Regions from separate parts of the Homo sapiens genome. Here regions 1, 2, 3, 4, 6 and 7 are each linked to region 5. The links are contacts of gene promoters, found by promoter capture Hi-C in blood cells and fetal thymus (Javierre and others, 2016). All regions are on one chromosome and are shown on one strand. The core of a region is centred on a gene start or on the middle of the fragment in contact, and the rest is flanking DNA. Distances in the headings are between cores, read along the strand shown.

What was found. The method cuts DNA at HindIII sites, captures the fragments that hold promoters and counts their contacts. A CHiCAGO score of 5 or more calls a contact.
Region 1: a fragment that was not itself captured here is called in contact with the fragment with the promoter of LINC01181 in region 5 in 7 of 17 cell types (total CD8 T cells, total CD4 T cells, activated CD4 T cells and 4 more); the score reaches 8.3 in total CD8 T cells.
Region 2: a contact is called between the fragment with the promoter of RIMS2 here and the fragment with the promoter of LINC01181 in region 5, in 17 of 17 cell types (total CD4 T cells, activated CD4 T cells, erythroblasts and 14 more). The highest score is 29.8, in total CD4 T cells.
Region 3: a fragment that was not itself captured here is called in contact with the fragment with the promoter of LINC01181 in region 5 in 1 of 17 cell types (endothelial precursors); the score reaches 6.0 in endothelial precursors.
Region 4: a contact is called between a fragment that was not itself captured here and the fragment with the promoter of LINC01181 in region 5, in 13 of 17 cell types (megakaryocytes, naive CD4 T cells, endothelial precursors and 10 more). The highest score is 18.3, in megakaryocytes.
Region 6: a contact is called between a fragment that was not itself captured here and the fragment with the promoter of LINC01181 in region 5, in 1 of 17 cell types (neutrophils). The highest score is 5.4, in neutrophils.
Region 7: a contact is called between a fragment that was not itself captured here and the fragment with the promoter of LINC01181 in region 5, in 3 of 17 cell types (endothelial precursors, megakaryocytes and M2 macrophages). The highest score is 6.8, in endothelial precursors.

Annotation. Positions count from the first base shown.
Region 1 is chr8:103,533,021-103,535,720 of GRCh38, reverse strand. The region is part of intron 1 of RIMS2 (regulating synaptic membrane exocytosis 2); the gene reads right to left. Among named protein-coding and RNA genes, the nearest start is that of RIMS2, 34 kb to the right of the region's middle. The HindIII fragment of the contact is 1,142 bases long and covers 822-1,963 here.
Region 2 is chr8:103,499,104-103,501,922 of GRCh38, reverse strand. It overlaps RIMS2 (regulating synaptic membrane exocytosis 2), which reads right to left and starts at 1,313. Exons shown (of 30, transcript NM_001348484.3): 1 at 861-1,313. The coding sequence starts at 1,036. LOC105375690 (a long non-coding RNA gene) reads left to right here and starts at 13. Exons shown (of 5, transcript NR_145698.1): 1 at 13-127. RefSeq lists a silencer at 1-202. The HindIII fragment of the contact is 4,153 bases long and covers 1-2,819 here.
Region 3 is chr8:103,473,319-103,476,032 of GRCh38, reverse strand. No RefSeq gene overlaps it. Among named protein-coding and RNA genes, the nearest start is that of RIMS2, 26 kb to the left of the region's middle. The HindIII fragment of the contact is 1,782 bases long and covers 441-2,222 here.
Region 4 is chr8:103,515,565-103,518,264 of GRCh38, reverse strand. All of the region lies in intron 1 of RIMS2 (regulating synaptic membrane exocytosis 2), which reads right to left. Among named protein-coding and RNA genes, the nearest start is that of RIMS2, 16 kb to the right of the region's middle. The HindIII fragment of the contact is 2,914 bases long and covers 1-2,700 here.
Region 5 is chr8:103,119,583-103,122,282 of GRCh38, reverse strand. It overlaps LINC01181 (long intergenic non-protein coding RNA 1181), which reads right to left and starts at 1,251. Exons shown (of 6, transcript NR_145429.1): 1 at 1,070-1,251. RefSeq lists an enhancer at 1-214. The HindIII fragment of the contact is 1,509 bases long and covers 1,092-2,600 here.
Region 6 is chr8:102,640,360-102,643,152 of GRCh38, reverse strand. No RefSeq gene overlaps it. Among named protein-coding and RNA genes, the nearest start is that of KLF10, 14 kb to the left of the region's middle. The HindIII fragment of the contact is 1,153 bases long and covers 783-1,935 here.
Region 7 is chr8:103,453,492-103,456,291 of GRCh38, reverse strand. No RefSeq gene overlaps it. Among named protein-coding and RNA genes, the nearest start is that of DCAF13, 40 kb to the right of the region's middle. The HindIII fragment of the contact is 3,690 bases long and covers 1-2,800 here.

The DNA of each region.
Region 1 (2,700 bases), core at 143-2,642, 410 kb before region 5:
TGTCACATTTAGCTACCTGAAAGACTAAGCCATCACCCATTGCTAAACCTATCATTAATCAAAATGCACCAAATTGTTGCCCCACAGTTTGGGAAGAACTGAAGGTGAGGAAGCAGAACAGATGGCCAAAGTACACCACTGGCTCCTGGAGTCTAGCCAAAAGCTAACGTTGAATTCTGGCAAAGCTCTGCGGGCATTCAAATCAGTTCTTCTAGCTGTAATCGACTCAATAATGGGGCTACACATTACAGTATTAAAATCCTGTAGATATACTTGAGCCTGATCTGCCACCTATGGAATGAATAATCACATTTCTGAGCAAGGTTCCTGGTAGTTTCTAATATCAGAGTCAAAAGTCTAGGTAGAGAGAAGGCTTTTCTAGCAGTATAGCTCATTGCCAAACTATGTAGAAATAATTAAGGGCAATCGATAGGCTGCATAGCAAGAGAAGAGGAAGCATTTATACTCCTCCTCCAAACTTACTCTACTTCTGCTAGCATAACCTCTGCTACAGCTAATGCTTACATGACTAGGATAAAATTTCACAAAGAGAAAGTTCTGACATTCAGAGCTGATGATAAAGGTAGTTGTTGAAATTAACCATATATAAGTACATTCTAAAGTCGTAAATAACAATTTATATTCAAAGGCAAAAAAACATTCTTTTAGCCAGAAAGAGGCAACAGTAAACTGGATATTTTCAAGCTAAAGAGAAATAAATTTCTCTTGTTCATTCAAAGAAGAAAATCAATACAATGTAAAGATTTCAAATAAGTCTCAACTGGTATTTTTTACTGGCCTAAATCAAGGGTTGGCAAGCTTTTTTTCCTGTAAAGTGCCAGACAGTAAATAAGGCTTTGTAAGTCAAAAGGCAAAATTAAGGATAATGTGTAGTGCTAACAGAACAATAAAAAACAAATTTCTACAAAACCCTTATTGATAAAATTCAAATAATTGAATGTAATAATACAGGTCTACTGATGAGAATAATGGAATTCTCTTTGGGGGGAAAATATTTCACTCAATTGGGATTCAAAGTTAGTATTCCAAATGATCCAAATCAATTGCAAATGTCCTGTTGTTAATGCTGATCTGTAATATGATTTTATGTATTTCATTTTAGTAATATATTTTTGCACAGATAGGAAATACAAATACGTACTGATATCAAACAATGAGAATGTTTTTAATTGATGATATTCATCACTTAGAGGATACTTATAGAATTGAGTTTGAGACTTCTCTAGACATTTGCCTTTTAGCATGTTATACATCATACATTGCAGATGAAAGTTGGATATTAACTCTTCAATTACACAGTTAAATAAATTTTGAAATATGTATATGTCTTTTGTACTTGCTTCAAAGTCTGAAAAATTAGGTTGATACTATAGTCTGAGCTTGGAAAATATATCAACTGAAAATCTGTGTGGGAATGAGGAGCTCACTACTTAACTATTGACAGCATAGGAAGCATATAAAGTAGCTTGAAATTATTTGTGATAAACATTGTCATTGAAATGACTTTAAGTTCCATGGTAGAACTTATAAATTCCATATGTAAGCACAGTTTTACCTTATATGTGGAGCTTCTAAGTTGAACACAGAAATTTATCAATTTTGCAGCAAAAGCAAATTTCCAAAGCCATCCAGTGTTCAATAACAGGGCTTAGTGTATTTTTCAGAAACAGTTCAACGTCAGCCTTGAGCTCAAAAAATTGAAATAAAATTTTATGACTGCTAGACCATCACACTTCTATTTGATAGAATGAGTCATAATATTCAATTTCTGACAAAAATGCACAGAAGTCATGATGGTTACATCTACAAGAAGGAACGAAGTTCACTGTTGACACTAGTGACTCAGTAACACATGATGATTCAAATATTTTCTGCAGAATATCTACTCATAAATAACACAATGAATAACCATAAGCTCTAAACACCTTAATTTTTACAAGCTTTGAAAAGTTGTCCAACTAAGACTTTTTCTACTCCATACATTATTTTTATCTTTTATCAGGTTTTTTTCTTTTTCTTTTTTTTTTTTTTTTTTTTTGAGACAGGGTCTCGCTTTGTCCCCCAGGCTGGAGTGCAGTGGCATGATCTCAGCTCACTGCAACCTCTGCCTCCTAGGTTCAAGCAATTCTCCTGCCTCAGCCTCCCATGTTTTATCAGTTTTTAACACATCTTAGCAGATTCCACTTCAGGTTGTACTAAATTAATGTTTTCTCAAATTATTTGAAAATGTTCTTGCCACTAATTGTTCCACACTGACTATTCAGAGGCTTATTAAAACTCAATACTAACTCCTAAAATAAAAAACAACAGAAAAGTATTGATAACATTTGTCAATTCACCAAGAGTCAAGGAAAACCACTCAAAAATCACTTGTTGTGTTTTGTAACTGACTAGAAATGCTGCTCCCAATACCCTCAACTCTTTGAGAAACTGTTCCCACCAAAAGGCTTAATGTTTATTTTCTCTAGATACATTTTTTCAGTTCCTGCAATCAAATATGATTTAATTAACTAACCATATCTTAAATGGATTTATTTGCTTGGCTAACAAGAGAACCACTTAGAAACTTACTTTTTGGTCACAGCCTTATTTTCATTTATTACTTTCGTAAAGAAAATCAGCTTATATTCCACTTTAATATTCTAATTTTCCCTACTTGAGAATATTGTGATCAATGCT
Region 2 (2,819 bases), core at 64-2,563, 380 kb before region 5:
GGACAGTTCCCTGGTGCTGAAGTTCCAGAGCCGGTAAACGCATGCCTGGGTGCTGCTTTCACTCCTACCACCCTCAGAAAAACCCGGCCTGCCAAGACCGTGAGCAAGAATAGTAGAACTTCACAAGGTAGGGAGCATCCCAAACTGCAGTGATGGTAGGAACTGGAGTCTCTTCAGGATTAAACAGATTTACTAGTTGCAAACAGGAAGAGCAGCAGAGTGCAGGGTGTTAGCACTCGCCGAGGGGGAGGGGCTGGAAGATGGCGGCGGACGCACACCCACCCGACCGCGACAGAGCTTAGGCCCCTAGCCCGCGCCGCCGCCCGCTGCTCGCAGCCACTGTGGGCAGCCCTGCTCTGTCCCGCGTTGCTGGTAGAGCCGCCCCGCGGAGGCGTGGGACCAGGGTGGCGTCCGCATCCCCTGCCAGCGCGCCTTCGCCCGGGTCCGTCCAGGGAGCACCTGTGCACGGCCATATTGGATTCTGTGCCCCAGTCACTGCCTCAGCGCGGCGGGAAAGGAGAGGGTACGCACAGAGCCTGGGTTCAGCCCCAGTCCCGCTGGGGCCCCGGAGCCAAGATGACCAGCGAGGAAATCCGGAAAGGCGCCAAGGAAAATCACACCGCCTAAGGCTCGCCACCCTCACCTCAGCCGGCCTTGGCGCCCTCCCTCCCCGACACACACCCCTGCTCTCAGACACCCCTAAAACAGCCCGGGCGGCCGGCGCTGGCCGCAGCCCTCGTGGCCTGGGCGCCGCCAGCGGGAGGGAGGGCGGCGAACTGGGGCGCGCAGGCGGCCGCAGGGCAGTGGGCGAGGGGGCGGAGGGCAGGGAGAGAGGCGGGAATATGGAGCCAGGTCCTTACTTGAGCACGGACTGCTCCTTCTCCTCTTCTTTCTTCTGCCTATCCATGACGGCCAGGATGATTTTCCTCTCCTCCTCCGTGAGGTGGCTGAGGTCAGGCATCTCGGGCTGCAGAGGCGGCTGAGAGGCCGCCGGGATGGGAGCCAGGCGGCCCCGGGGCCCGACAGGAGCCGACATGTTTGGTGGAGCCGAACCACCCTAGGGAAGCGGGGAGGCAACTCCACTGGCAGCGGCGGCACCGGCGCGGCGGCTGGGGCAGCCTCCAGCGCTGGGACAAATACATACAAATCAATGGCCTTCAATCCAAGGCGACAGCCCCCCTCCCCCAAGAAAAGCAGGGGGAGGGGAGGGCGAGCGCGTGGGGAAGGAGGGCTGAGGAGTGCGCTTCGGGAAATGTTTCTTCTTCCCGGGGGCGAAGGGCTGTGAAGTGAGCGGTTCAAGGGAAAGGGGAACTGGAGGCCGGGACGCGGAGTGCGCGGAGAGGCGGGGGAGGGTGGTGGAGTAAGGTGGCGGGGACAGCTAAGGGTGGGGTGACTGGAGGGAGCAGGCGGGAGGGCGACAGGCGGACCGGGGCGCGAGTGTGTCCGGCCGCGGTCAGGGCCGGGAGCGCGCGCGCCGCCTCGGAGGGGAAGGGGTGCCTGCGAACAAGCCCCCGGGGAACTCGCTTCGAGCGCCCGGAGGCGGAGTACTGCCGGCCCGAGGGGCACCCAGGCGGGAGCCGAGAGGGTCGTGAGGAAGCGAGGACGGTTTCCCGGAGAAGCAACTCATCCGTCCCGCCGGCTGACGCATCACAGGGCTCCCGCGCGCCACAGAGGGAGAACTCCTCCAGGCACACCCGGGAGCGGGCCGCGGGGCCGGAAACCCCCGCGGAGACCCCAACCCCACCCACCCCACCCCCGGCTAGAGTGGAGAAGCGAAAGCGGAGAAGATATGACGGGGGCTAGCGGCGGAGAGTCCCGGGGCCAGGGCCCTTCGGCTGCCAACGCCCGGATCCAGGCGAGCTCCGACGTGCAGCGGGGTCTGGCGCCGGCCCCTCCTCATCACGCGCCCGGCCCAGGGTCGCTCAGCCGCCGCCACCGCCGCCGCCCCTTGGGTCGATGGAGTCGGCGCGGAAGGCCCGCGCGCCCTGCGCCGCCGCCGCTCAGTGCCGCCGCCAGCACCTCCTCCGCCCCTCCGCCTCCCGGGCTCATCCCGCGGGGGCGGCGTCACCTCCTCGCTGCCCAGGCCCGGGCACCGCGGGCGCCCCGCGGGCGGCAGCCGCCCCTCCCGAGCGCGATCTCCAGGCTGGGTCCGGGGCCGGGCGGGGAGGGAGGAGAGACTGAGCGTGAAGGGAGAGGGCGCCCGAGTTTTCGGGGACGGAAGTGTGGAGAATAGGAGCGTGTGAGGGGGCGCCCGAGGTGTCGGGGGCGGGGGAAGAGTATGAGCAGGGGTGGGGGCAGGGGTGCCAGGTGTAGCAGGTAGGGAGGTAGAGGCGGCGAGTGGGGGCGCCCGAGGGACCGGGGCGGGGCGGGGAGCGTAAGGGTGGCAAGGCGCCCGAGAGTCAGGGCTGGAGCTGAAGGTGGGTGACAGGGAGGGGGCGCCCAGGTGTCAGGACCTGAGGAGAAAGAGTGCGCGTAGCGGGAGGGCCCCGAAGTGTCGGGGCGGGATCCTGGAAGGAGGGAGAACGTGAGGAGGGAGGAAGGGTCCCTGGGGTGTCAGGGATGGGGGCCAGGAAAGGGGCAGAGAGCTGGAGGCCCACAAGTGGGGATAGCGGGGGAGGGAGGTTGGAGCGAGTGGGGAACGCAGGTGGTGTCGAGGGCGGGGACAGGGCGAGGGGAGCGGGGCGTGAGGAAGTTGTGGGAAACCGCGCTGGACGCTGAGAATGTGCGGAAGGATCCTGAGGGGAGGACGCGAGACAGCGCGAGGAGAGACGAGGAGAGTTAGGGTTGGCCGGGAGGGTGCGAAGATGAAGCGACCACTG
Region 3 (2,714 bases), core at 82-2,581, 350 kb before region 5:
AAATTATATATATGTGTATATATACATTACATATATATATGGTTTCTCTCTATATATATATAGAATCTGATCACTTTTCACCATTACTACAACTTGCACAATAGGCCCAGGCTGTTGTCAGCACTTACCTGGACCATAGCAGTAGTCTCCTGACTAGTCTACCTCCTTTCAGTCTTGTCTCCCATGGGATCTCTTCCCCATGGTGATATTTTCAAAATGTAGCCTGAATCATGTTGCTTTTCTGCTCCAAAGCCTCTAAAGCTTTCCAAAATATGCATAATACAATCTGAACTACAAAACCCTATGTGATTTGGGTCCTGACTACCACTCTCTTGGTCTCTTTCCCCACTTCAGGAACACTGGCCTTTTCTCACTCTTCCTCATATATACTGTATGAAGCTAACTTGTGTCTCAGGAACATTCATCCACGCCTGGAAGCTTCTTGCCTTGTAGAGTCATATGTCTCAGGTCTCTGTTCAATGCTACCTCCTCAGAGAAACTGTCCCTTACCGTGTTTTCTAATTAGATCACCTGCCTTTTGTCATTCTCAATATCTTTGATTCGCTTTATTTTTCTTCATGTAACTTCTCACTACCTGAATTTATATTACAGGTTGAGTATCCCTTATCTGAAATGCTTGGGACCAGAAATGTTTTGGATTTCACATTTTTTGTGGATTTTGGAATATTTGTATATACATGATGAAATATCCTGGGGGTGAAATCACTGTAAACACAAAATTTGTTTATGTTTCATATATACCTTATACACATACCCTAAAGGTAATTTTTTGTACTATTTTAAATAATTTTGTAAATGAAACAAAGTTTTTAATGAAACCTGTCACATGAGGTCAGGCATCAAATTTTCTACTTGTGGTACCATGTTGGCACTCAAAACGTTTAAGATTTTGGAGCATTTTGGATTTTGGATTTTTGGATTAAGGATGCTCAACCTGTACATATATTTCTGTTTATAGTTTTTTTAATCTCTCTCACCTACCAGAATGTAATCTTCATGACAGAAAGAGTTTTGTCTTGTGCACTGATGTATTCCCAGCATCCAAATTGGTCAGGTATATAGTATGTGCTCAATAAATATTGTTTCACTTGAAAAATGATGCAGTGTTGACTAATACAGGACTTTGGCTCCCTAGGTTTATATCATTCCATAATATTGCAAATTATGCATTATTATCATAGAAACATATGTACATTCTTGGAGGCACAATTATCAGCAAATACTGTCTCCTGGACAACCTACCTAAAGAAGTCTAGGTAATATTAGAAGATAATTGAATTAGATCATCACCAGTTGATCAATTACCTGATTTGTTTGTTCACTTGTGATCATCATTTCTGCCAAGTAACCCAGACGTAGGTCCTATTGACTTGCAGAATCACTGGGGTTAGATTTCACATCCATGGAACATCACTTGCACACTTGCTCTGTGTTATTATGGTTAGTTTTCTATCTTGGTTTCTCACAAAACGTTGAATATTGTGTGTTGTGGTAATTTCCTGTGTTCTTTTTTATTAATATTATTTTTAATTGGCAAATTATAATTGTATACATTTATGGGATACAATGCAATGTTTTGTTTTGTTTTGTTTTTTGAGATGGAGTCTTGCTCTGTTGTCCAGGCTGGAGTGCAGTGGCACAATCTCAGCTCACTGCAACCTCTGCCTCCCAGGTTCCAGCGATTCTCCTGCCTCAGCCTCCTGAGTAGCTGGGATTACAGAGCCTGCCATCATGCCCATCTTATTTTTGTATTTTTAGTAGAGATGAGGTTTCACCATGTTGGCCAGGCTGGTCTCAAAATCCTGACCTCAGGTGATCCATGTGTCTTGGCCTTCCAAAGTGCTGGGATTACAGGCTTGAGCCACTGCACCTGGCCCAGTGTTTTGATATATGCAGACAAAGTAGATTTTATTGTAGCTAAAGCTCATTAGATTAATCTAATTGACATATTCATCACTTTGCTTAACTATCATTAAGCTAATTAACATATTCATAAACTTTGCATACTTTGCTTAAAAAATACCGTTTTGTTTTGTTTTGTTTTTACTTTTATTATTAACAGTTTTATTGAGGTATAACTGACACAGAATAAAGCCTTCATTTTTAAAGTATAAAATTTGGTTAATTTTGAATTATATATATATATGCATGAAACCGTTACCAAATCAAAATAATAAACACATATATCACACTGCAAAGCTTCCTCATGCCCCTTTGTTATTTCTCCCTCTCATAAACCCAAGCGACCATAAGCAACAGGTAACCACGGTCTTCCTTCTATCACTATACACTGGTTTGCATTTCCTAGACTTTTATATAAGCAGAATCATATAGTCCACACTCTTTCCCTTTTTTTTTGGTGGGGAGGGAGGATATGTCTTCTATAACTGACAATAATTATTTTAAGATCCATCCATGATGTTGTGTTAATTGATAACTTGTTCCTTTTAGTTTTTGAATAGTATTTCATGGTATGAACATATCAAAATATGTGTATGTATTTACTTGTTGAGGGACATTGGAGTTGATTTTTTTTTCTATTAGAATAAAGCTGCTGTGGACATTGGTTTACAGATCTTTGTATCTTAGAGTAGAATGTCTGGATCATATAGTAAGTGGATATTTAACTTTTAAGAAAAGCCCAAATTGATTTCCAAAGGACTCACACCATTTTGTGTGTATGTGAGAGTTAC
Region 4 (2,700 bases), core at 74-2,573, 400 kb before region 5:
GTTATAGCATAAATTATTTATACAGTCATTCTAATAACTTACAAATCATTTTTTGAATTTTATAAAGTGTCAATCTCTTAACAGAGCCATGGTTGGATATTTAGAACAATATTAGACTTCTCCTGACACATTCATAATTAAAATGAGAGTCATTAGGTCCCTGATACCCACCATTTTGCTACAACTTTAAAACAAACTGGGCAGGCTGCCTGCATGTCATAGTCACATAAACATCTAGATTGAGCCTGTCCAACCCGCGGGCCAAGGGCAGCTTTGAATGTGGCCCAACATAAATTTGTAAACCTTAAAATATGATGAGATTTTTTTGCAATTTTTTTTTTTTAGCTCATCAGCTATCATATTCGTGCATTTTATGTGTGGCCCAAGACAATTCTTCTTCTTCCAGTGTGGCCTAGGGAAGCCAAAAGATTGGATACCCCAGATCTAGCTGTTAGTGTTTTCCACAGAGACTGAAAGCACTGTGCCTCAGGACACTCCCTGCAAAATGCAGTTACCACGAAAACCACTTGCACTGCAGCCTTCCATTGCCTCCACCAACAACAGGGCACAGGGGTATCAGGTAGGCACTGACACTACAGGCAGTACATGCCTTCCAAGGACCATGTTAATACATACCAGCAAGGTTACTAGGTTTCATAATTCTATAAGACTGCACTAGACAACATCATTAGATAATTTATTCTCTCAATAATATTTAGTAGTATGCATCAAAGTGATTCAGTTTTTAAAAATTAGTGTCTCTGTACTGGTGCAGGTCAATTGAATATCAGTCCTGCATATGATGCCCTTTGTAACTGACTCTCACCAACTAGCTTCACCTTCCACCACTCCATCCCTTCTTTCCATCTTCCATGCACCTAGCAATATAGGAATACTGGCTATTCCCCAAAGACACCATGCACTATGCTTTTCACAGTCCGTGTCTAAATGCTTTTCACAGCATATGTCTAAAATGCCCTTCTTCTCCACATACTTTTTCCTGCAAGGCCAGTTTGAATGTGATCTTTGGTTATAAAGACTTCCTTAAATCCTCCATGTTCGTATACTAGCCCCTTCCTCTGTTCAACACTTGGTATATAACTACTTTAAGGCACTTATCATGCATTTGGATTATTTATTTACATGACTCTTTACCACTAAATTATAAGCACCTCAAGGGCAGAGACTGTGTCCTATTCCTCTCTGTTTCCTAAATTAGTACAGTGGCTGGTATAGAACAGATGCTCAAAATGCATTTGTTTAAAGGAAGAACAAATAAATACTTAAATCAAAAACAATCATTATCTTTGATTCCCTATACTGTATTGCTGGAAATTTTTAGATGCAGACTTAAACATGTATAAGGGGATATCCATTTTTTAAATTCTTTTAGAGAGTAGAGTGTATATGGCTTTGTAGAAGCAGCGCCATGTAGTACCTCTCCCCGACCTTCCCATTGGATCATCTCAGGTAGTCCAATTATTACTTTTGTCCCAATTGGGTTATTATTACTGAAGTTCTTTGTCTAATATACACATGTAAAACATTTATTTTTAATTTTCCCTTGTTTCTACATTTTTCCAGCACATAAAGTATGTAGGAATACTACATTGCAACAATAGCAACATCTAGTATTAGATGTCCCACATAGGATATAAATTATTTTGTCAATCTTTTTATTGTTTGTATTTCCTTCTTTTCTTCCATCTTTCATTCTGGCCCTCTTTATTTCTTTCTTATTGGCTTTTAATGTTAACAATTACCAAGAGAGTCATTCGTGACAGAATTTCATAGTGGATTGTTTTAATTTTAGAAATAAAAAATAATGTAACATAATTTAATTAAATAAGTTCAGTAAAGGGACTGCAGACTTTTTTGAAAATATAAGTATGAGTACAAGTATGAAATTTTTGAAATTTTAGTTATTGAAGTAAATAATTATTTCAGCAATATAATACATTTCTCAAATTTTGGTTCCTGTACTCCTATAATTCTTCTCTTTCTCAAACTAAATGTCCTATTTGTATAAAGAAGTTAGCACATAAAGCTATGGGGCCAATAAACAATGCCTGCACCTTGCCACAAAGCAAGATTTTAACTTTTTAAAATGTCTGCAAGTTTAAAATAACAAAGCATAATACAGAACCTCTCATTTAGAAGTCTACATAGAAACTGCCAACTGCCAACACTATATTTGAAATCGATGAACCAAAAAGAAAAAAAGACAAAGAACATGTGTCACTTTCAATGATATTAGTAAGTGTATAGATGGCACATGAGAGGATATAGAGACAACACTAATCAAAATTACTAACTAAAGTTTTCACTGCAGATTAATGAATCTATAGTCAGCAAACAGTATTAAGTTAATAACTGACACTATAGCCACTAAAGAGGAAAAACTAAAAAGATATTTGTCCTGCAAAGATGTACCAAAAACAAAATATATTCAAATTGGTAAATTAAGATTTTGAAACACTAATATTTATAAAATATTATAGAAATATTGTATAAATTTGCGATGACAAGTAGAAAAGTTCTATAATCAGAGTTCATTCTGAAAAATCTGAAATTCAAGTAATATTTTATTTCCAGAGCTCTTGAATATAAATTTTGCCTTTAGATATGAATTCCACATTAAATGTTATCAAAATGAAAAATCTAATCAATTCCAAGCTGCTTCAATCCCAATTACTGTTG
Region 5 (2,700 bases), core at 2-2,501:
ACCAAAGTCTCCAGGAAGTAGACATTATCAGCAGCATTCCCATTTGACGAATGAGAAGACAAGCTTACAGAGGTTACCTGAATTGCGAGGATCACACAGCTAGTCAGCAAGGGAGCTGAGACTCAAACCTGCGTCTTCAGATTCTGGTTTGCGCCTCCTTCTGACTGCACAGCCCTGCAGGCTCCAGAACATCTCCCTTGCCGGCTCTGCTTCCTTTCCTCAGCTGTTGAATGGTGATGCTCCCAAGGCCGTCCGTTAGGGCCTGCATTTCTCTCCCTCTCCACACTCTCTCTGGTTGTTCTCATTTACCTCCTTGCCTTGGCCTAATATCAAAAAGTCAGTGGCCCCTAGAACTCTCTCCAGCCCAGATCTTTCTCCTGAGTTCCATACCTATATATCTAATGCCTTACTGGACACCTCCACATGGCTGTCCAAGCCACCTCAAGTGCAGTGTTTCTGAAATGAAACTCATCTTTCTCTGTAAACTGCTTCTCCTTCTGTGTTCTCTGAGTAGCAGTGACTTCACTTCTGAAGCACAGACTATGTGTTAGTTATTTCACACATGCAAGAGCGGGGTATCATCGTCCCATTTTACAAAAGATAAAAGTAAGGCTTGGAGACGTTAACTTGCTTGCACAAGGCCATAGTACCAAGTCGTTGACAGAGCCAGAGTTCAAATCAAACTCTATTCTGCATTTCTCTCACTGGCACAGGCTGCCTGGAAACCATGGGGCCTCAGCTCTTCACTCTGTTGCACGAACCAGAAGTCATGGTTCATTCTTGACTCCTCCAACCCTCCCCACCCTCTTCCCACCCTCACCCACCCCAGCTTCTCACCCCCACAGCTGCCTCAGAGCTGAGTCAATCAGTTCTACCACCTAAATGCTTCGCAAGCTGTGCCTTCTCTCCATTCCTATTGTCACTTCCTTGGTTTAGCCCCTAAATTATGTCTCCCTCATTACCTGAAATAACTTCCTAACTAGTTTCTTTGTCTCTAGTAACAACCCCGCTTCAAGTCCTCTCTCCCTGTGAATGAGCTTTCTAAAATATACCCAATCATTGCATTCACCTGGTTAAGACCTCCAAAAGCTTCCACTACCTCCAGGATAAATCCCAAATTCCTGTTTCTGCTGATGCCTGTATATGCAGGTGATCCCTTGCTGGGTCTCTGAAATGGGTTCATCTCTTCAAGGTTTTTACTGAGACGATATAGTCCTCTTGTTGCACATTGCACTGATCCAGGCCATCTGTACTGTATTCCAATGAGCTACAGAAAAATGCTTGCGTGAGAGCCTTTCATATGCAAAAATAAAGACTGAATTATGCCATAACTATTGATAAGTCTACAGTAATCCATCATGCAATTGTTTACCCAATAGATTGTGTTTATATTGTCTTTGGTACCATGTAATTTGTAAATTTTCATGACAGTGTAACCAGTTAGGCCTAGGGTGGCAGGACTTAAGTGTTGCTGAATCATTTATTACTCCACACCTCATTGAAAAGTGCTTCATAAACTTTCTGAAACTGTTCAACAGACAGAGGGTAATTTGTGCTCTGCCAACAAAGGATTCTGTTGTTGAGTGCCTATCAGCATATTAAAGGTTCAGAGAAAACCAGCAATGCAGAAACTAGAGCAATTTTGTTCTCAGAAGATAGTTTTCTTCTGCACATCCATTCGTTAACATATTCTAAAAGAGTCTGCCCTCAACAGGAGTTTGGGGAAGCACTGGGATAGAGTGCAGAGGCCCTGAGGCTTCTGGAGTTTATCTGACTCTGACATCAGGATGCAAGCACAGACCTGCCACTCTCTCAGGAACATCTTTCGTTAACTCCCGTTTGTCTTTCAAGATTCAGTTCAGATGGCATTTCCTCCTAGTGCTCTTCCTCCCTCTCTGTCTGTCACACACTCACAGGTGCATATGCACCCACACATTTGTGACATGTATAATAATTGCATGGGATTTCCTAACACCCTCTTTCATAATACCTGTCTGTATTTTCTATTGGTTGATAGAAAATTCAGCCCAGACGGATGAGAGCCAACAGGAAATTTATAGGCATTGGAGGCACGCTGCTGCAGCAGCTCCAGCCTCACCCATCCCCACCCTGTCCCAGGTCCAAGTTCAGCAGGAAAGCAGGATTGTCTCATAGGTTTTGTGCCCTGCCTGAGGAAATTCCCCAGATTGTGAATCCCCAAAGGTAGACCAGGGTCTCTTATCCCATATCCAGCCCTTAGCACCTTCCTTGGCATGCCTTGTTTTCAACAAATAACAAATGGGGACACAAAATGTTCAAAGCAAGACTTCTACCTCGAAGGAGTTTATAGTCTAGTTCAAGAGTCACTATGTATAAACAGAATAGAAATACAATAGACCATACAAGGTAACATAAATGCCAAATGAGTGACTTGGGTATTAAGTATCAAAGGAATTCAAAGAAGGGACAGTTTTGGGAGTTGATAAATAAGACATAGATCCTGAACTAGAGAAACTGTTTCTAGTAGGAAAGAAAGGTATGTTACACAGAAAATGCCAATACAGACTGATAAGTATGGGGGCAGAGTGTTCATTACCATGTTCTGTTGGTTCTAGAAAGCTTTTCTTTTTCACTAAATGATTCAAATAATAGCAGCCTTATTTTTCTTGGTCTTATTTACTTTATTTTACTAATAAATTTTTCAAGATGAGAATAGGGGAT
Region 6 (2,793 bases), core at 110-2,609, 480 kb after region 5:
TTAGTTCATTCATTCATGATAAAGTGCCCAATCTCAGATGCCCCATCAAGCATGGGCTAAAAATGATATAAAGTTATGCCCAGAGCTCTAGGAATTCAAAATCCCAAGGGAATGAAGATCAGCATGAGTGACAAAAACATCTCTGCCCCAAGGAAATCATCAGGCCACACCTGTGCCAGGTCTGCCCACATAATGCGGCCTCAAATTGACAGACACAGAATTCCAAGGAAGCATAACTCTCTCATCTTTGGCTTATTCTAACGGAAGGGATAAAACTAAATGGAGCCGTCTGTTGTTTTAAGCTTCCCCTGCCAGTTGGCATCCTGATCTTGACAGAGATTAGAAATTCATGGCTCTCTACCATGGATGCCAACAATCCCTGCATGACCTTGATTGACCAGCTTGGCAGCAAGATGCTGAAAGGGAGAAAATGCCCCAAAATATAAAAAGATGACACCTTATCTTTCTTTCATTTTCTTGGAAGAATTTAATTTTTAATTCTAAATTTTAATTCTAAATTGGAGGCACAGCCTGGGTTTAGAAAAATCTATATAAAATTCTGAGAAGAAAAGTTAAGAAATAACGTGAAGTGAAGAAAGGATGACCCAGGCTGTGGTAGAAGCAGTTTCCTATTTCTCTGATTAAGCTGTGTGAAGCTTGAATATCAGTTTCAAAAAGGCACCCTTTTAGTTTGCACAATCTCATTGAAAAGATAAATACAAGCACTGAGTGTTTATTACCACTAGACAAAGTAAAACAGTGTGGCCTTGTGAAAGGAAGCTTCTCCTGGGGTCATGGGGCCATCATGCTGGTGTCACTTCTATGCTGGCTACAAATGTAAGCTAAGTAAGCAATTTCACTATTTCACAGCTTTGTTTCAGTATCTATACAATGAGGTTATAACGCTCATCTAACCTGTTTCTCAAGATAGAATTAGGCTTGAAAACTCTGTGTGTGTGTGTGTCGGGGGGGTGTTGGCAGTGGAGGGAGGGGGTTCAAACATTAAGAGGGCTGCCCAAATATCAATGGTGGGTATTGCACTGTCACAACTCAGATCAATTATTAAGACAGAAAAGGCCCCTATAGGTGGGGCAGCATCCGACATCAGTATAGAAATTGTCATGTTGTGGTCCCTGTTAGGGAGGAAGGTCAAATTCCAAATGTTCACAAAATTGGGATGAAGCAATGAAGCAGCTCATTTCCAAGATGGCACCCAATAATTTTTGCTCTTGGATATTCATGTCCTCATGTAGTGTCTGCTCATTTTGACTAGAGTTGATCTATATAACCAGTAGGATGGTGTAGAAACGATGGTGTGTAATTTCCAAGACTCCTCATAAAAGATATTATTGTTTCCAGCATGATCCGTCTTGGATCACTCACTCTGAGGGAAGCCAGTTGTCATGTTGTGAGGATGCACAAGCAGGTCTATGCGGAGGTCTACATGCTGAGAACTACACCTTTTGCCAACAGCTAGCACCACGATGCCAACCAAGTGAGAGAGCTACTTGGAAGTAGATCTTCCAGCCTCAATCAAGCCTTCAGATGACGGCAACCCTAGCTGATATCTTGACTGTAACCTCTGACAACCCTGAGCCAGAACAATGTAGCTAAGCCATCCCCGATTCTTGACCTACAGAAACTGTGATAGATAACAAATGTATATAATTATCTTAAGCCACTACATTTTGGGATAATTTGCTAACACAGACTTAGCAATGGATATTAAAAGCAGTGAAGTATTTCTACAGAGTAGGCAGTAAGACCCCAAAGCCCTGAAATAAAGACAATGTTCAGTTTAGTCCAGTTTCCATGCTGACTTTAGCTCTTTAATTGGACAATATATTTTGGGAAGTGGCAAGACAGAGGAACAATGAACATATAGATTCCAGAGATTTCTACGAATTGGGACAATAGTATTGAAACTTCTAAGCTTTGATTACCTTTTTTTAAAATAGAAGAGTGTCTGGTATACTGGTTGTATTAGTTTGCTAGGGCTGCCATAACAAAGAACCGCTGACTGGGTAGGTTAAACAACAGAAATTTATTTCCTCACACTTCCAGAGGCTAGAAGGCCGAGATCAAGATGTCAGCAGGATTGGTTTCTCCTGAGGCCTCTCTCCTTGCCTTGTGGGTGGCCATCTTCTCCCTGTGTCTTCACATGATTTTCCTCCTGTGTCTGTGCCCTGATCTCTTCTTTTAACAATACCAGTCATATTGAATTAGAGCCTGTTCCAGTGAACTCATTTACCCTTAGTTAACTCTTTTGAATCCTATTTCTAAATACAGTCGCATTCTGAGGTACTGGGGTTAGGACTTTAACATATGAATTTTGGGAAGGATCATAGCATTGGTCAACATGTCAGTCTATATTATTCCATCATAATACACCAATAGCAGTATTTTTTTCCTTCCTTTCCTTCCTTCCTTCCTCCCTCCCTCCTTCCCTTCCTCCCTTCCTCCCTTCCCTCTTTCCTCCCTCCCTCCCTTCCTCCCTTCCTCCCTTCCCTCTTTCCTCCCTCCCTCCCTTCCTCCCTTCCCTCTTTCCTCCCTCCCTCCCTTCTCTCCTTCCTCTTTCCTTCTCTCCCTCCCTCCCTTCCTTCCTCCCTCCCTTCTTTCCTTCCCTCCCCCTTTCCCTCCTTGCTTCCTTCTCCTTCCTTCCTTCCTTCATTCCTTCCTTCCTCCCTTCATTCGGTCCCTCCCTCCTTCCTTCCTTCATTCCTTCCTCCCTCCTTCCCTCCTTCCTCCCTTCCCTCTTTCCTTTCTCCCTTTCTTTCCTTCGTTCCTCCCTCC
Region 7 (2,800 bases), core at 290-2,789, 330 kb before region 5:
GCAGGCGCCTGTAATCCCAGCTACTCGGGAGGCTGAGGCAGGAGAATCTCTGGAACCCAGGAGGCAAAGGTTGCAGTGAGCCAAGATTGCGCCACTGCACTCCAGCCTGCGCAACAGAGCTAGATTCTATCTCAAAAAAAAAAAAAAAAAAAAATAGGCAAAGAACTCGTATAGACATTTCCCTAAAGAAGATATGCAAATGGCCAACAAGCACATGAAAAGATGCTCGACAGTGTTACTCATTAAGGAAATGCAAGTCAAAACAACAATGAGATGCAACTTTATATTTACTTGGATGGCTATCATTTTCTTTAAAAAGCAAAATAAGCATTGGTAAGGATGTGAACAAATTGGAACACTTGTACGTTGCTAGGGGTATGTAAAATGGTGCAGCTGCTACAGCATTTACATACAACAAACAGTATGGTTGTTCCTCAAAAGGCTAAACATAAAATCGCCCTATGACCCAGCAATTCTATTCCTGGGTATATAGACAAAAAAATTTAAAATAAGTACTCAAATTCTTGTACACGAATGTCTACAGCAGCACTTAGTCACAATGGCTCAAAGGTGAAAACCACATAGATGTCCGTGAATGAAAGAATGGATAAACAAAATGTGGTATATGAACACAATGGAATATTATTCAGCCATAAAAAGAAACGAAGTACTGATATATGCTATGACATGGATGAACCTCGAAAACAGTATGCTAAGTAGAAGCCAAACACAAAAGTTCACATATATGATTCCATTTTGTTGAGATATCCACAATATGTAAATCCATAGAGACAGAAAGCAGATTAGTGATTGCGTCAGGCTGGAAGGAGAGAATAATTTTGAGTGACTGGGTTTTTTTTTTCTTTTCTTTTTTTTTTTTTTTTGTAGAGATGGAGTCTCACTCTGTCGCCCAGGCTGGAGTGCTGGAGTGCTGGAGTGCTGGAGTGCTGGAGTGCAGTGGTGCGATCTCGGCTCACTGCAACCTCCGCCTCCCGAGTTCAAGCAATTCTCCTACCTCAGCCACCCGAGCAGCTGGGACTACAGGCGCACGCCACTATGCCCGGCTAATTTCTTTTGTATTTTAGTAGAGACGGGGTTTCACCATGTTGCCCAGGCTGGTCTTGAACTCCCAAGCTCAGGCAATCCACACGCCTTGGCCTCCCAAAGTGCTAGGGTTACAGGCGTGAGCCACCACACTTGGCCAATATGTACAGGGTTTTCTTTTTGGGTGATGAAAATGTTTTGGAACTTGATAAGTTAGTGGTTGTAGAACATTGTGAATATATGAAATGTCACTGAATTGTATACTTTAAACTGGACAATTTTATGTTACGTGAATTTAACCTCAATTTAAAACAAAAAGCAGTTGGCGGTTGTTATTGAATGATCTGATGTGGAAATTTGAAGCCAGAATCAGCGAACAATTGATGGAGAATTGGTTCAGAACAGGTGGCATTAACGAACTAGACTGGCTATCTGAAGTGACTGTGAGATCATGGGGAACTTGATAGTGTCAGATGACAAAGCTGATAGATACATGGCATTGCAGCTGATAGCTTAGAAACTATAGAAGTACATCTACTATTCTGTGGAGTACTTATTAGGACCAGACAAAGTCCACAAAAAAGGTGCTTTGGAAGAGTTGTACCTCATTCTACTAAAAACAGAGGAGCCTGTCAAGAGAGCGAGTTCTATTTTGTATCTATTCAATACAAAATCGAGGTAGAAGAATTAAGAATCCTTACAGAGAGGATGTACTTTCCGCTTTATAGAAGTCAGTTTCATTACCTTCCAAAGAAAATGCCTTGATATGATAAGCCACCTGAACCCTGCCCCTTCATGGTCTGTAAACGGCCTCATTTCCAAACTGGTTAAAAGTTATTATCACCCAGAGGATGATTACTGAATTGTGTTACTTGCACATCTTGATGATGAACTACTGTTTGCATAATACCAAACTATCACTTCTTTTTCATTCTTTCGAAAGGTCCAGCTTACTTACTGAATCAAAGAAAAGTTATAATGATTATTACAGATAGAACAGTCTCACCTAAAATAGATAAGAAATGAAATGGAAAGTATTCACTTACCCTTTGGAGTGGGGGGTGGCTTTTAGACTGAAACTTAAAAACAAGTCTTGTCATTAGGATGTTTTCTTGGTTGTTAAGTATTCAGAAAATCAAACTAACACTGGCTTAAGCTGAAAGTAATTTATTTGTCTCTTATAATTAGAAGACAGGAGACAGCAGGTTGGATCTCCTGGTGAATGATGTCCTAAAAGACCCTGGCCTTTTCTATTTTTTCATTCCACCATCCTTCACCTTATTCTTTTGGACTCATGGTCACAATATGGTCACCACAGTAACAGGTATCAGGTTCACATTTAAAGCATAAAGAAGTGGAGGGGGAAGAGGTAGCACCAACAACATCTGTTCCTTTATTAAGAAAGAAATGCTTTCCTAGAAAAAGAAACCTCACAGTAGACTTCTGCTTATGCCACATTGGCCAGAACAGGTTCACATGGCCACCCCTAGGTGCAAGGGAGGTAGAAAAAAAATACTCAGCATTTTCAGCCTCTCTAGTGGAGGACTGCAGACAGAGAAGAGGGCTGGGAATGGGGTTTAGGCTAGCCAGCTTTCACTATTTCCCACACTCTTCCTTGTACAAATGTAAAAGAGATTCTTAGACGAAGAAATAAAATAACTGATTTTAGGCCTAATGAACAAGAACATGAACAATGTTGTGATTTTTATTTCAGCTGTCAACCTAGGAAGTATGTAGTGGCTTAAGTTTCACTACA